Linked DNA regions of Homo sapiens: regions 1, 2, 3 and 4 are each linked to region 5. The links are contacts of gene promoters, found by promoter capture Hi-C in human tissues and cell types (Jung and others, 2019). All regions are on one chromosome and are shown on one strand. Each heading gives the region's core, a stretch centred on a gene start or on the middle of the fragment in contact. The rest is flanking DNA. Distances are from core to core; before and after follow the strand shown. Region 1 has its middle 12 kb from the start of EBF2. Region 2 overlaps LOC105379336 (a long non-coding RNA gene). Region 3 has its middle 67 kb from the start of EBF2. Region 4 has its middle 78 kb from the start of PPP2R2A. Region 5 holds the start of PNMA2 (PNMA family member 2).

Region 1 (2,700 bases), core at 4-2,503, 460 kb after region 5:
CACGGTATGGGTGCTACAGAGATTGACCCTAAGGAGGGCAGAGGAACCCTAAATAAAATATCACTGTTGCAGTTAACATTAGGTTGTCCTAAGAAATATAAAGATAAAACTCTCAGACATGGGCTGGGCATGGTGGCTCATGCCCGTAATCCCAGCACTTTGGGAGGCTGAGGCGGGTGGATCACCTGAGGTCAGGAGTCCTAGACCAGCCTGGCTAACATGGTGACACCCTGTCTCTACTAAAAATACAAAAATTAGCTGGGCATGGTGGTGCACACCTGTAGTCCCAGCTACTCGGGAGGCTAAGGTATGAGAATCACTTGAACCTGAGAGGCAGAGGTTGCAGTGAGTAGAGATTGAGCCACTGCACTCCACTTTGGGCAACAGAGACTCCATCTCAAAAAAAAAAAACAAAACCCTCCGACATGAAGATGAAGCTCCCTGGTACGGCTGCTTGTAGTTGTAGCTGCCTTCCTGTTCTCCATAGCCCATTGGAGCTTAAATCTAGAGAAGTAAAATGCACAATAACCTAAAGCTTCTGATTCTTTTTTCATTAAGGCCTGGAGGATCTGAATAAAAATCCATCTGGGACTCAGTCTCAACTCCCATTACCTGAAAAACAATAAAAAATTTCTAAACTATATCATCATTATGTTTTATACATGAAAACAGTGAAGCATGCTGATGTTAAGTAGCTCACCCCAAATATTCAAATTCACTCCCCTCTGTAGGAAGAGCACTGAATATGTAAAGTCCTTAGACATAGAAAGAGAATTGGCAGTTTAAAGAAAGAGATCATTTATGAACCATTGTAGAACTACTGGGAAAATAACACTTTAAACAACTTAAATTGTCATTTCAATGAGAGTAAAAATACTGGGAATTAACACTTAAAGATTCTAAACAATTCTTGGGAAGTTTTACCAAACAGAACTGTAATGGAGGCAGTGATATTGTTGTAAAAAATGATAATATCCACATGTCATGTCCAAGAAACTTCTCAAATACTGAGAAATATAATTTTTAAAAGCCCATTATTGCTGGAAACTAGACAGAGGTGCTATTCTCATATAATAAACTTTAAGGAATTTCTCTAAGACATATTACAGGCGTGAGTGGATGGAGGGGAAGGTTCATCCATACAGTCTTCAGTTCTATCTAGAAGAGCTGAAGACTATGTAGGCTGTTGTTAAAGTACCCTTTCTGAAAAAATTCTTACAGGCTCATGTCAAAGCTTTATTTCAGATTTGCCCTGGGGAAAGAAGGTCCTGAGCCAGCCATTGCAGATTTTTTTCTTTGAAGAAGAGGTTGTAGAAAAATACAATAAGGCAGTGCCAGTTAATGTTATCAGACTCTTCTCAAGACTGATAGCTTCTCAGAAGATGCTCTTGAGCTCAATAAAGTCTACCAAAAAATCACACAAGGATGCTAATTATTTCCCAGAAGGAATTATAAATTATATCACATACATAAAGAAAATTGTGTCCCAGACCATATTTGGGACAATTTTCTTTCTTGCCATGCTACAAGGCATTTGGTGGTATAATAGTTCAGTTATAGCTCATTTAATGGAGAAAACAGAATCTGGACCACTATTTTAGACAATGTCACAAGTTAATCTCATATGCATGGGATTAAACATGTGGATGTAAAAGACGAAATTAGAAGTGTTGGATTTTTTTGTGTAATTTTGAGGTGTAGAAAGACTTCTTAAGTAGGACTCCAAAGCACAAAAGTGGACGGAATTGACCAGATAAAAATAAAGCATTGCTAATCAGCAGAGGACAACACTGACCAAGTTATAGACAAATGACAGATTAAGAGATAATATCTGTAACATCTAAAACTGACAATTAACATCTAAACATATAAAATCCTTCCGCCAATCATCAACATCAACAGCAGCAGAAGCAGCAGCAACAACCATCTCCAAGGCTGAAAATCCAGTGGAAAAATGCTATCAATAAGTGGTTAATTGGTGGGGGATCCAAATGGTTAAAAAACGTTTGAAGAGATGCTCAACTTCACCAGCAAGCAAAGAAATGCACATTAAAACAACAGCAAGATATATCTTTATACCCATCAGATTTGCCAAAATTACAAAGTCAGATAATACCAAGTTTCTGGTGCCCTGTTGATGGGAGTATAAATTAGAAAAGTCTGGAGGAATAAAAATAAAACAGGACATTTAGGTTGGTTCCAAGTCCATCGGGGGGTGGGTGGCTAGGGGAGGGATAACGTTAGGAGAAACACCTAATGTAGGTGGTGGGTTGATGGGTGCAGCAAACCACCATGGCACATGTATACCTATGTAACAAAACTGCACGTTTTGCACATATAACCCACAACTTAAAGTATTAAAAATAAATAAATAAAACAGGATGCAAAATGAAAATATTCAACTCTGGCAATGGGAAAAAATTGTTTCAGATACAGAAAATTAAAGTTATAGCAGAATACAAGGTACAGCTCTATGGTAATGTATTTAAAAATATTAATGATATAGATTATTTTATATGAGAATAAAAATTATCCAAATATACTCAGTAAGTGATAGAAAACCTGAATAAATCATTAACCATCAAATAAATTAGATAATTTATCAAAGCCTTTATGGGAAAGTTTTGTTAATTTTTTTTTAATAGAGAATGGGGCGGGGGGGGGCGGGGGGTTCTTGCTATGTTGACCAGGCTGGTCTCG
Region 2 (2,700 bases), core at 14-2,513, 350 kb after region 5:
CACGATGTTGGAACCCCAACTCACTATGCCAAAGGGACAGTTAAGCTTGGAAACTGAGTTATGCAAAAAACAAACAACAACAACAACAACAACAACAAAAACTGCCTTTCTGTTTGTTCCTAAACCATCTATCTAGCTGCAGTGATCAAAGGCCATGTATCTCCCCAGGTAGTGCTTTCACAAATTGCTTTCAAGGAAATTCCTTGTGGGCCCTCAAATCTTTCAGTTAACTAATCCTAAAACAGAGGTCTGTTGAATTTCATCCTGACAATACAAATTAATAGCTTATATTCACAGGTATCGGACAAGGACAAGACCGGAGCCATCCCTCCACCCACCCCACGACAAATGCATAATTGACTGCTTCCTCTACTTTATGTTTATCTTATGTAAAATGTAGATTTACTGAGCATGAGATGAATGCATAATTGACTGTTCCTCTACTCTGTTTATCTTATGTAAAATGTAGATTTACTGAGCATGAGATGAATGCATAATTGACTGCTCCTCTACCTCCACTTTTCACATGTAAAATGTAGATTCAGTGAGCACTAATCAAAGCCTCCCCAGAATGTACCTGCCTCATTGCCTACCTTCCCTCCTTTATTTCTTTCCTCCTTCACCTCTTGGTTGCTCTTTCCCTTTTAAATATTGAAGTCCTCAAAACTCTCTCAGAAAAGTCACAGGTCACAGGTGCTCCTGTGACTTGTGGTCACTGCCCCCTTCCCCTACAACCCAGGTACATCCTCAACTTTGGTAAAATAAACCTCTAAATTGATTGATACTTGCCTCAGTCTTTTCTGGAGGTTAGGCATCTACATCTGGTGAGGGCCTTCGGCTGCTTCCACTCACAGAGAAGTTGAAGGGGAGCCGGCGTGTGCAGAGATCACATGGTGAGAGAGGAAGCAGGAGAGAGGCAGAAGGTGCCAGGCTCTCTTTAACAACCAGCTTTCACAGAACTAACAGAGTGAAAACTCACCCACTCCCCACCCCCAGGAAAGGCTATGATCTATTTATGAGGACGAACCAAACATCTCCTAATATACCAAACACCACCATATTTGGGATCAAATTTCAATGTGAGATTTGGTGGGGATGAATAAACCACAGCAGATGTTAACTCCAGAAAATTAGTGTCAAAATTGAAGGACACTCAGTTGGTGTCTTTGCTGAAAATTGGAGAACTGCTTGGCATGGAAAAAACCCATATATTTGTTGTCAGAAGTGTTGAGGATAGAGAAAAACTGAATTGTTTTTTCTTTCCTTTTAGGCACCCTGTGCCAAACATGCATGCACTTCTTGCCTGCTGGGCTCTCAATTCTGCTCTGGTGCCCCCATCCCCACACCCCCTTGTCCCACCTACCTTACTCTGCCCCTCCTAATGGCTTTAGGGCTAAATTGTTTCAGGATAGGAAGGGGAAGGGAAAAGAAAGAAGAAGAGAAAAAAATCAGCTATAAACTCACTCACCTAAAGCAACTACTTTCATTTTAGTTCACTTCCAGTCTTGACCTAGCATATACACAGACAGTCCTCAACTTACAATGGTTCAATTTACAATTTTTTTACTCTACGATGGTGCAAAAACGAGGCACATTCAGTAGAAACCGCACTTTTTGAATTTTGAATTTTGGTCTTTTCCCAGGCAAGTGATATACAGAATGATACTCTCTTGTGATGCTGAGCCAAATCATCTAACACAAAGCCTATTTTATAATAAAGTGTTGACTATCTCATGTAATTTTTTGGATACTGAAAGTGTTCTGAGCATGTTTAAGTAGGGTAGGTGATATGGTTTGGCTGTGTCACCATGCAAATCTCATCTTGAATTGTGACTCCCACAATTCCCATGTGTTGTGGGAGGAACCCAGTGGGAGGTGATTTAATTATGGGATAGGGTCTTTACTGCACTGTTCTCATGGTAGTGAATGAGTCTTACGAGATCTCATGGTTTTAAAAATGGGAGTTTCCCTGCACAAGCTCAAGCTCTCTCTTTGCCTGGCACCATCCGTGTAAGATGTGACTTCCTTCTCCTTGCCTTCTGCCGTGATTGTGAGACCTCTCCAGCCCATGTGGAATGTAAGTCCATTAAACCTCTTTTTCTTTCCAGTCTAGAGTATGTCTTTATCAGCAGCATGAAAACGGACTAATACAGTAAACTGGTACCAATTGAGTAGGGCACTGCTGAAAGATACCCAAAAATGTGGAAGCAACTTTGGAACTGGGTAACAGGCAGAAGTTGGAACAGTTTAGAGGGCTCAGAAGAAGACAAGAAAATGTGGGAAAGTTTGGAACTTCTAAGAGACTTGTTGAATGGCTTTGACAAAAATGCTGACAGTAATATGAATGATAAGGTCCAGGCTGAGATGGTCTCAGATGGAGATGAAGAACTTGTTGAGAACTGGAGCAAAGGTGACTCTTGTTATGTTTTAACCAAGAGACTGGCAGAATTTTGCCCCTGCCCTAGAGATTTGTGGAACTTTAAATTTGAGAAAGATGATTTAGGGTATCTGGTGGAAGAAATTTCTAAGCAGCAAAGCATTCAAAAGATGACTTGGGTGCTCTAAGAGCAATCAGTTTTAAAAGAGAAACAGAGCATAAATGTTTGGAAAATTTGCAGCTCGACAATGTGATAGAAAAGAAAATCCCATTTTCTGAGGAGAAATTCAAGCTGGCTGCATAAATTTGCAAAAGTAATGAGG
Region 3 (2,700 bases), core at 49-2,548, 400 kb after region 5:
CCACAGCTTCTAGCAACAACAATTCTGCTTTCTGTTTCTATGAATTCACCTCTTCTGGATATTTCATATAAATGGAATAATACACAAAATGTGACTTTTTGTCTGCTGTCTCTCATAGCACGTTTTCAAGGTTTATCCATGTTGTAGCATCTATCAGCACTTCATTCCTTTCCATGGCTGAATAATACTCCACTGTATGGATATGCCACATTTTGCTTATCCCTTCATTTGCTGATGGACATTTGGATTGTATCCACTTTTTGGCTACTATGCAGAATGCTGCTATGAACATTCATGTACTTTTTTTTTTTTTTTTTTTTTTCCTGAGGCAGAGTCTCACTCTGTGACCCAGGTTGGAGTGCAGTGGCGTGATCTTGGCTCACTGCAGCCGCGACCTTCCTGGGCTTAGGTGATCCCTTGACCTCAACCTCCCAAGTAGCTGGGATTACAGGTGTGTGCCACTTGGCCTGGCTAATTTTTGTATTGGTATTTTTATTTTATTTTATTGAGACAGAGTCTCGCTCTGTTGCCCAGGCTGGAGTGCAGTGGTGCGATTTTGGCTCACTGCAACCTTCGCCTCCCAGATTCAAGCAATTCTCCTGCCTCAGCCTCCTGAGTAGCTGGGATTACAGGTACCCACCACCACGTCTGGCTTATTTTTTTGTATTTTTAGTAGAGACAGGGTTTCACCATGTTGGCCAGGCTGGTCTCAAACTCCTGACCTCAAGTGATTTGCCCGCCCCGCCCTCCCAAAGTGCTGGGATTACAGGTGTGAGCCACTGCTCCCAGCCTAGTTTTTGTATTTTGTAGTATAGACGGGGTTTCATCATGTTGGCCAGGCTGGTCTTGAACTCCTGACCTCAGGTGATCTGTCTGCTTCCGCTTGCCATGGTGCTAGAATTACAGATGTGAGCGACTGTGCCCAGCCTCATGTACAAATTTTTGTTTTAATGCCTGGTTTCAATTACTTTGGTTGTATACATAGGAGTAGAGTTGCTGGGTCATATGGTAACTCTATCTTTAACTTTTTGTGGCACTGCCAAGCTATTTTCTACAGTGGCTGCACCATTTTACAATCCTACCAGCAATGTTCCTGTTTCTCCACCTCCTTGCCAACAGTTGTGATTTTCCTTTTTTTTTTTTTTAAATATGGCATTCTAGTGGATGTAAGTTGGTATTTCATTGTGATTTTAATTTGCATATATATATATATATATATATATATACATATATATATATATATATTTTTTTTTTTTGAAACAGTGTCTTTCTCTGTCGCCCAGGCTGGAGTGCAGTGGCAGGATCTTGGCTCACTGCAACCTCTGCCTCCCAGGTTCAAGTGATTCTCATGCCTGTAGCTGGGACTATGGGTGTGAGCCACCATGCCCGGCTAATTTTTGTGTTTTTAGTAGAGATGGGGTTTCACCATGTTGGCCAGGCTGGTCTCGAACTCCTGACCTCAGGTGATCCACCCACCTTGGCCTCCCAAAGTACTGGGATTACATATGTGAGCCACTGTGCATGGCGATTTGCATTTTCTTAATGACTAATGTTGAACATCTTTTCATCTGCTTCTTGGCTATTTCTGTATCTTTGGGGAACTGTCTATTCAAGTCCTTTGCCCATTTTTAAATTGAGTTGCTTGTCATTTTTAATGAGTTGTAAGAGTTATATATTCTGGATACTAGACCTTTATACACTCAGATGTATAAGTTGCAAATATTTTCTCCCATTCTGTAGGTTGTCTTTTTGCTTTCTTGCTAGTATTCTTTGATACACAAAAGTTCTTAATTTTGATGAAGTCTGATTTATGTATTTTTAATTTTGTTGACTGTGCTTTTGGTCTCATATCTAAGAATCCATTGCTAAGTTCAACATACACCCTTGTTTTCTTCTAAGAGTTTTGTAATTTTCACTCTTACATTTAGGTCTTTGATATTTTGAGTTAATTTTTGTTTGTGTTGAGAGTTAGGCATTGATATTTTTAAAAGCTTCTGTAATGATTCTTTTTGTTGTTATTGTTGTTGGTAGACGGAGATTTGTTGGAGAATTTGTGGAAGCACAGTCTTTGGTGGCAGCAAGCCAGGTAGGTCTTCTTCTATAATGACTCTAATGGAAGCCAAGGTTGAGAATCACTGCTGTAAATGGCTGAGAAGGAGGGGCTGGAGTCTAGCTATAGATACCTATCTGAAGAAGGCGTGATGGAATTGAGCTAAAAGGCAAGAGTTGGTGCTTTCTGAGTTACCAGTTTGCTTTGGAGAGAATCAAGTTTGCTCCTGAAAGCCTTAGGAAGACATTTAAAGATATCAGGAGGGCTCATTCCTCTGACGGCTAGAGCTAGGGTACTCCTTTGAGGGTGTCTGGAGTCTGGTTGGGGAGGACACAGAACTGAACCAGCAGATGAGGTTAGTGGTTTCCGTGTGAGAGGAGAAACCAGAACCCACATGTTCTGAAACTTGCTCTGGATAGTCGGCAGGTAGACATTAGGCAATAGCAAGTCTCCCTACACCTGTTCCTAGTAACAGGTGCCTGTGGTAGGGCAGCAGAATCACCCTACATGCTTGGGGATTGAATTGTTTTCTTATAAAGTACACTGATTGCTAAGAGCTCTTATATGTGACTCATATAGGGATTACTAGCTTTGCAAACTTTAAAAGTCATCTGAAGATAAACAATTCCATTCTTCCTTAATGATTCAGA
Region 4 (2,700 bases), core at 79-2,578, 300 kb after region 5:
TCCTGCAGGGGGTCTCTGAAAGATAACGATGTTGAGTGTTTAGGATGAGAAGCAAGGCGCCGCTCTGGGAATTCTACGTGAAAATCACAGAGCATCTCAAGGATGGGGGAAGCAGGCCTCTAGTGAATAAATGACAAAGCAACACTCCAGGAGTCAGTGTTAGCTCAGACTCTGTGTCCTGGCTGACCAGTTCTAGACTCTTCTGGGCTCCTCCTCAATGAATGGTAACCCTCTGTCCCTGGGTGCTCTGATAACCATGAGAGAGAGGCCATCAGCCAAGTCTTAGGGGCCCCTGCAGGACAAGAGGAGGGGGAAGAAAAGGAAAGCAAGAGAGAGTCTGAGGCAGAAAAGAGGGCAAACCAAGAACCGAAAAAAGGAAAGAGTTGGAATTGGCACCACGTGGTGATTTGCAGTTTACAAAGCTACATAGACATTATTGGAGCTTATTCTGCATCCCGCTCCCTGTTTTTTTGTTTTTTTTTTTTAAGACAGAGTCTCGCTTTGTCACCCAGGCTGGAGTGCAGTGGCATGATCTCAGCTCACTGCAACCTGTCTCCTGGGTTCAAATGATTCTCCTGCCTTAGCCTCCTGAGTAGCTGGGATTACAGGTGCACACCACCACACCTGATATATATATATATATATTTGTATTTTTAGTAGACACAGGGTTTCACCATGTTGGCCAGGCTGGTCTTGAACTCCTGACCTCAAGTAATCCACCGCCTTGGGCTCCCAAAGTACTGGGATTACAGGCATGAGCCACTGTGCCCGGCCATATTTTCCCCACTTTTTAGATGAGGAAACTGATACTCAAAATGTGTAAGTGGCTTTACCAAGATCACATAGCTAGTAAATGGCAAAGACACAACTTAAACTCAGCTCTCCTGATTTCCTGCCTGTATGCCTGGTGGTGCATTGCACATATGTTGTTAGGGAGAGGTTGGAAAAGGGCCACCCACGTTGTTGCAAGAGTCACTAACAGTGTCACAGGCCACTTAGGATAAAGAGCAGCTGTTTGTTTGTTGCCCATATATGCATTTAACCATTATTTGGTGACTTTTATGGTCTAAAGGTGGAAAACAAACAGGCAATTATAAACAGTGTGATAACTGTCAGCAGAGTCACATGTTTCTAGGAGAGTAAATTGGAGGCAACCACCCTATCTAGTTTGGTGGCATTTCTAGGAGAGTAAATAGGAGGCAACCACCCTATCTAGTTTGGTGGCAATCAGATAAACTTCCTAGTGCCAGTGACATCCAAGCAGTGAGCTGGAGGACCCGGGTGGTGAGGTGAGGAGGTTCTAGAAGAAAACACTGGATACAGAGGCTCCAGAAAGCAGTATCTAGAAACAAAGTGAAATGAGTTTGGGAGTTGACTCTGGAGAGGAAAGCAAAGTTCATACCTTAACAAGCTTTGCAATCCAATTAGATAATTGGACTTCAGCCTGAGGGCAAAGCGAAGCCCTCAGGGAAATCACTGGATTAGATGCGCATTTTGGACAGTCACTCTTGCTGCAGTGTGAAGAATGGATTGGCCAGGGACAAGACTAGAGGCAGAGAGATCAGGAGGAAGCTTTGCCCTAATGCAAGGAAGAGGTGTTGCAATCATCTCCAGCTTCTTGTTTCTCACAGTTTTGGAGGCTGAGAAACCCCAAATCAAGGCTCCAGCAGATTTGGTATCTGGTGAGGGCCCACTTCCTGGTTCAGAGACCGCCGTCTTCTTACTGTGTCCTCAGGTGGCTGAAAGAGCTCCGGAGCTCTCTGGGGTCTCTTTTATAAGGGCACTAATGCCATTATCGAGGGCTCCACTCCTATGACTTAACTACCATCCGAAAGCCCCACCTTCGAATACCATCACATTGTGGGTTAGGATTTCAACATGTGAATTGAGGTGATAACACAAACATTCAGTCCCTAACAAGACACTTACAGGCTGGAACCAGGGATGGAAAGAAGTAGATTGATTGGCAAGGGATTAATATGGCCCAGCAGCTAGAACCTGGTGATTGCTTGGATATCGGGGGGGAGGTGTGTGTGTAGGAAAATGGGAGCATAAAGACCCCATCTGCGGAGCGAGGGAACATTGGAGGGGAGCAGGCTTTTCAGAGTGAGACAAAGAAGTCCAGAGAAATAAGCTCAAGTTGGGATGTAATGATACCAAACAATATTTTCTCCACACTCACTATGGGCCACGTGCTGTTCACTCATTGTCTCCTTTCATTCTGACAATAATAACTCACATTTACTGAGCCCTAGTATCACAGGCCAGTAAGAGGCCATGCCAATAACTTTACATTAATTGACTTATTTACCCAGTTAACTAATGAGTTGGGATCTCTTATTATCCCTCATTTTACAGATAAGGAGGTGGAGGTTCACAGAAATCAAGTAATTTATCTCAGCTCCATCACTAATAATAAGCCAAGAGATGAACCAGGGGCCAGGCATGGTGGCTCACGCCTATAATCCCAGCACTTTGGGAGGCCAAGGCAGGTGAATTACTTGAGGTCAGGAGTTCAAGACTAGCCTGGCCAACATGGAGAAACCCCATCTCTACTAAAAATACAAAAATTAGCTGGGCATGGTAGTGGGCGCCTGCAATCCCAGCTACTCGGGAGGCTGAGGCAGGAGAATTGCTTGAACCCAGAGGGCAGAGGTTGCAGGGAGCCAGAATGGGGCCACTGCAGACCAGCCTGGGCAA
Region 5 (2,706 bases), core at 89-2,588:
CCATGGTCCTGGCCTCGGAGCTCGGGACGTGAGCGCAGAAGGCGCGGGCGGAGGCTGTAGGGAGCGGCCGTCCGAACCCCCGCCCCTCCCGACCACCGGGGAGCCGCGGGCCTTCACGCAAAGCCTCCACCGCACGCTCTGAGCCGCTCAAAAAAAGGGTGGGGCACCCAGCCGCAGCTGCAATCGGAAGCCGCCCGGGAGGGTTTCAGAAGAATGGAACCGCGGCCAACCCCCTCCCAGACGACCACCGCCCGCCCCAGCAGGGGATCAGCCCATTCCCTATGCCCACGCCCCACCTCTCAAGCTCAAGGAGACGCGGGCAGCCTTTGTGGGCGCACGGCCGCCCACCGCCCAGCCCGAGCCTCGCCGCACCCTGCGCGGAGAAGGGGCGGGTAGGGCGGGGTGCGCGTGCAGATGCGGGAGGCGAGGTCCAGGGCGGGGCATGAAGGCGGGCGCGCCGGGCTCAGGGGCGAGGGAGGGGCGATCCCCGCGCCCCGTCCTCCGTCTCCACCCCCAACCCCCACACCGACCTGGTCGTTGATGTTCTGCAGGGCTTCTTTGCCCGAGGCCCTCCGGATCTCCACCTTCCGGCCCGATTCAACAGATGGCTCTCCGCCGGCGCGCCGGCCCTGCCGCGAGTACGGCGGCTGCGGGTCCGGGCCCAAGTGGGCGACGTCCCGCTGCTGAGCCACCACCTGCCCCGAGCCCCGGCCCACCGACAGCGAGTCGAAGTCGATGGTCTTGTTCTCCGAGGACCCTTCCACCGGGCAGAACATGCCACAGAATTTCTGCCGGGGCTTGGGGCTGCCGGAGCCCAGGTTTTTAAAAAAAGCAGGGACCTCTTCGTCCTCTGCCGCCTTCCCGGATTGCTTTCTCTCGGCCATGGCTCGGGGGCTCGGGTAGGGTCCTCGCCGTCCGTCCGTCCGTCTGCCAGTCCCTAAGTCTCCCTCGCTGTGTGCACAAGCCCCCTAGCTGCTGCCGCGGCTGCCGTTCGCCGCCCACCGCAAGGTGCACAGAAAGGAAGGAGGGCTGGCGAGCCGGCGACCCACCCTCCCGGTCCCTCCCCCTGACCCCGCTTCTCCCCTCCCTGCCCACGCCCCCCGCGGCTACAGCGCGAGCTCGGGGAAGCGGCAAAGTTGGATCTGGGAGGGCGTCCGCTGCGGCTGCGGGAGCCGAAAGGCTGCCAGTTCCCGGCAGCGCTGGGAGGAGGGAGGCGCGGGCGGGGCGCGGCGCCGGGGAGGGGAGCGGTGCTCAGGGGAGGGCTGGAGGGGAGGGAAGGAGAGAGAGAGGGGAGGGCGGCACCGCCCCTAGCCCCGCGCTCCGGAAGTGAAGCGGCCAGACCACCAGCTAATGGATGCGGAGCGGAGGGCCCGCTGACCGCTCTCCGCGCCTGGGTAAGTATCGGGCAGGGCACGCGGAGTGAGGACCGGAGGACGCAGCCCCCAGCCCCAGTGCCCCTCTCCTCCACCTGCCTGGCCCAGGCGCCTCTGCCCCGCCGCATGGCGGAGGTGGGCCGGGGGCGAGGGCGCACTGTGGATAGGGGTCCCGCCCCGTTACCCTGGGTGTGAGCTGATGGATGGGAAAAGGGGACAAGCCGGGCGCCAGGCTACTCAGGGTGTGGGAAGCGGGATGGCACTGAAGATGAGCAAGGATAGCACAGGCAGGGTGGACAGGAGGGGGGCAGCCAAGACGCTGGACACCCCAGCTTCAGTTTGTCCACTCGCCTTGGCAGGCTGCAGGGAGCAGAGACTGAAACGAGAAGGTTCCCGCTTCGTGCATCCACTTTGGTGTGGTTGGGGTGACGGGGGAGTGGGGGGGGGGCACACAACATGGCGGGAAGAAATTCAGAGGGGCGTAGCAGATGGGAGAGGAATATAGAGAGAGACGCAGGTCTGCGGTCTATGGGGGTGTAGCAAAGAGTGCAGTCGGGAATTCCAGCCCAGGGCCACGACTTAAAGACGGGGTGCAGACCGACTCTATTGCGCAAGGCGCCATGGACCGTGTCTGCGCCACTGCGCCAAGAAGGGCGCAGGAACGTGTCGCGATTTGGTTTATTCTGCTTCCTCCACCAAAAAAAAAAAAAAAAAAAAAAAAAGAGAGAAAAAACAAACTGAAACCCCCTTCCCAAATCTCCAGCTTTCCCCTGCGCCCCAGAGCCCCGCCTGGTTCCCCCGCCCCTGTTGCGCACTGCGCCACAGTCGCAGCGTTTCCCGGGTTACCAGATGCCACGTGTTTGGGGAGTAAGTGCGGGTGCGCATCTGGTGCGGAGTAGGAGGTAGGATGTGGGCTGTGAGTGCCATGAATTGTGTGGGGCCAAGCAGGGGAAAGGTGTGTAGGAACTTGGTGTGTGTGTGCAGTAGCTGAGCCACGGCCACCGGGTTGGTAAGTAACCAGGGGGCAATTAGATTTGTGTGCCTAACACGGTCAATGCTGGTCCTTCATTGCTTATTCCCATCTCCACGTCCTTTCCGCGTATCAGTCCCTGCCTCTGCGCGATGACAGCTCCGCCTCTCTTTCCACAGTGGCAAAATCCTGCAGAAATGGTGCCCCTCCTTTGGTGGCCCGGGAGGGAGTTCTGGGCATGCTCAGTAACCAGGGTGGGTTTGGGCTGAGAGGCCGTTTACCGCAGGGCCACCGCGTAGGGCCGTGTAACCAGGGATCCAGTCCCATTGTCAGCCCAGGATTAAATGCGGTTACCAACCACCC

The links. The method cuts DNA at HindIII sites, captures the fragments that hold promoters and counts their contacts. A contact is called where the count stands out against the background at its distance.
Region 1: a contact is called between a fragment that was not itself captured here and the fragment with the promoter of PNMA2 in region 5, in 2 of the 25 tissues and cell types used here (IMR-90 fibroblasts and stomach).
Region 2: a fragment that was not itself captured here is called in contact with the fragment with the promoter of PNMA2 in region 5 in 2 of the 25 tissues and cell types used here (dorsolateral prefrontal cortex and hippocampus).
Region 3: a contact is called between a fragment that was not itself captured here and the fragment with the promoter of PNMA2 in region 5, in 2 of the 25 tissues and cell types used here (IMR-90 fibroblasts and aorta).
Region 4: a fragment that was not itself captured here is called in contact with the fragment with the promoter of PNMA2 in region 5 in 2 of the 25 tissues and cell types used here (bladder and stomach).

What each region holds. Positions count from the first base shown.
Region 1 is chr8:26,056,358-26,059,057 of GRCh38, reverse strand. No RefSeq gene overlaps it. Among named protein-coding and RNA genes, the nearest start is that of EBF2, 12 kb to the right of the region's middle. The HindIII fragment of the contact is 4,310 bases long and covers 1-2,700 here.
Region 2 is chr8:26,159,636-26,162,335 of GRCh38, reverse strand. All of the region lies in intron 2 of LOC105379336 (a long non-coding RNA gene), which reads left to right. Among named protein-coding and RNA genes, the nearest start is that of EBF2, 120 kb to the right of the region's middle. The HindIII fragment of the contact is 3,893 bases long and covers 1-2,700 here.
Region 3 is chr8:26,110,915-26,113,614 of GRCh38, reverse strand. No RefSeq gene overlaps it. Among named protein-coding and RNA genes, the nearest start is that of EBF2, 67 kb to the right of the region's middle. The HindIII fragment of the contact is 8,659 bases long and covers 1-2,700 here.
Region 4 is chr8:26,211,854-26,214,553 of GRCh38, reverse strand. No RefSeq gene overlaps it. Among named protein-coding and RNA genes, the nearest start is that of PPP2R2A, 78 kb to the left of the region's middle. The HindIII fragment of the contact is 5,840 bases long and covers 1-2,700 here.
Region 5 is chr8:26,512,504-26,515,209 of GRCh38, reverse strand. PNMA2 (PNMA family member 2) reads left to right here and starts at 1,338. Exons shown (of 3, transcript NM_007257.6): 1 at 1,338-1,394. It overlaps DPYSL2 (dihydropyrimidinase like 2), which reads right to left and starts at 1,179. Exons shown (of 14, transcript NM_001197293.3): 1 at 531-1,179. The coding sequence starts at 884. RefSeq lists an enhancer at 2,224-2,706. The HindIII fragment of the contact is 13,621 bases long and covers 1-2,706 here.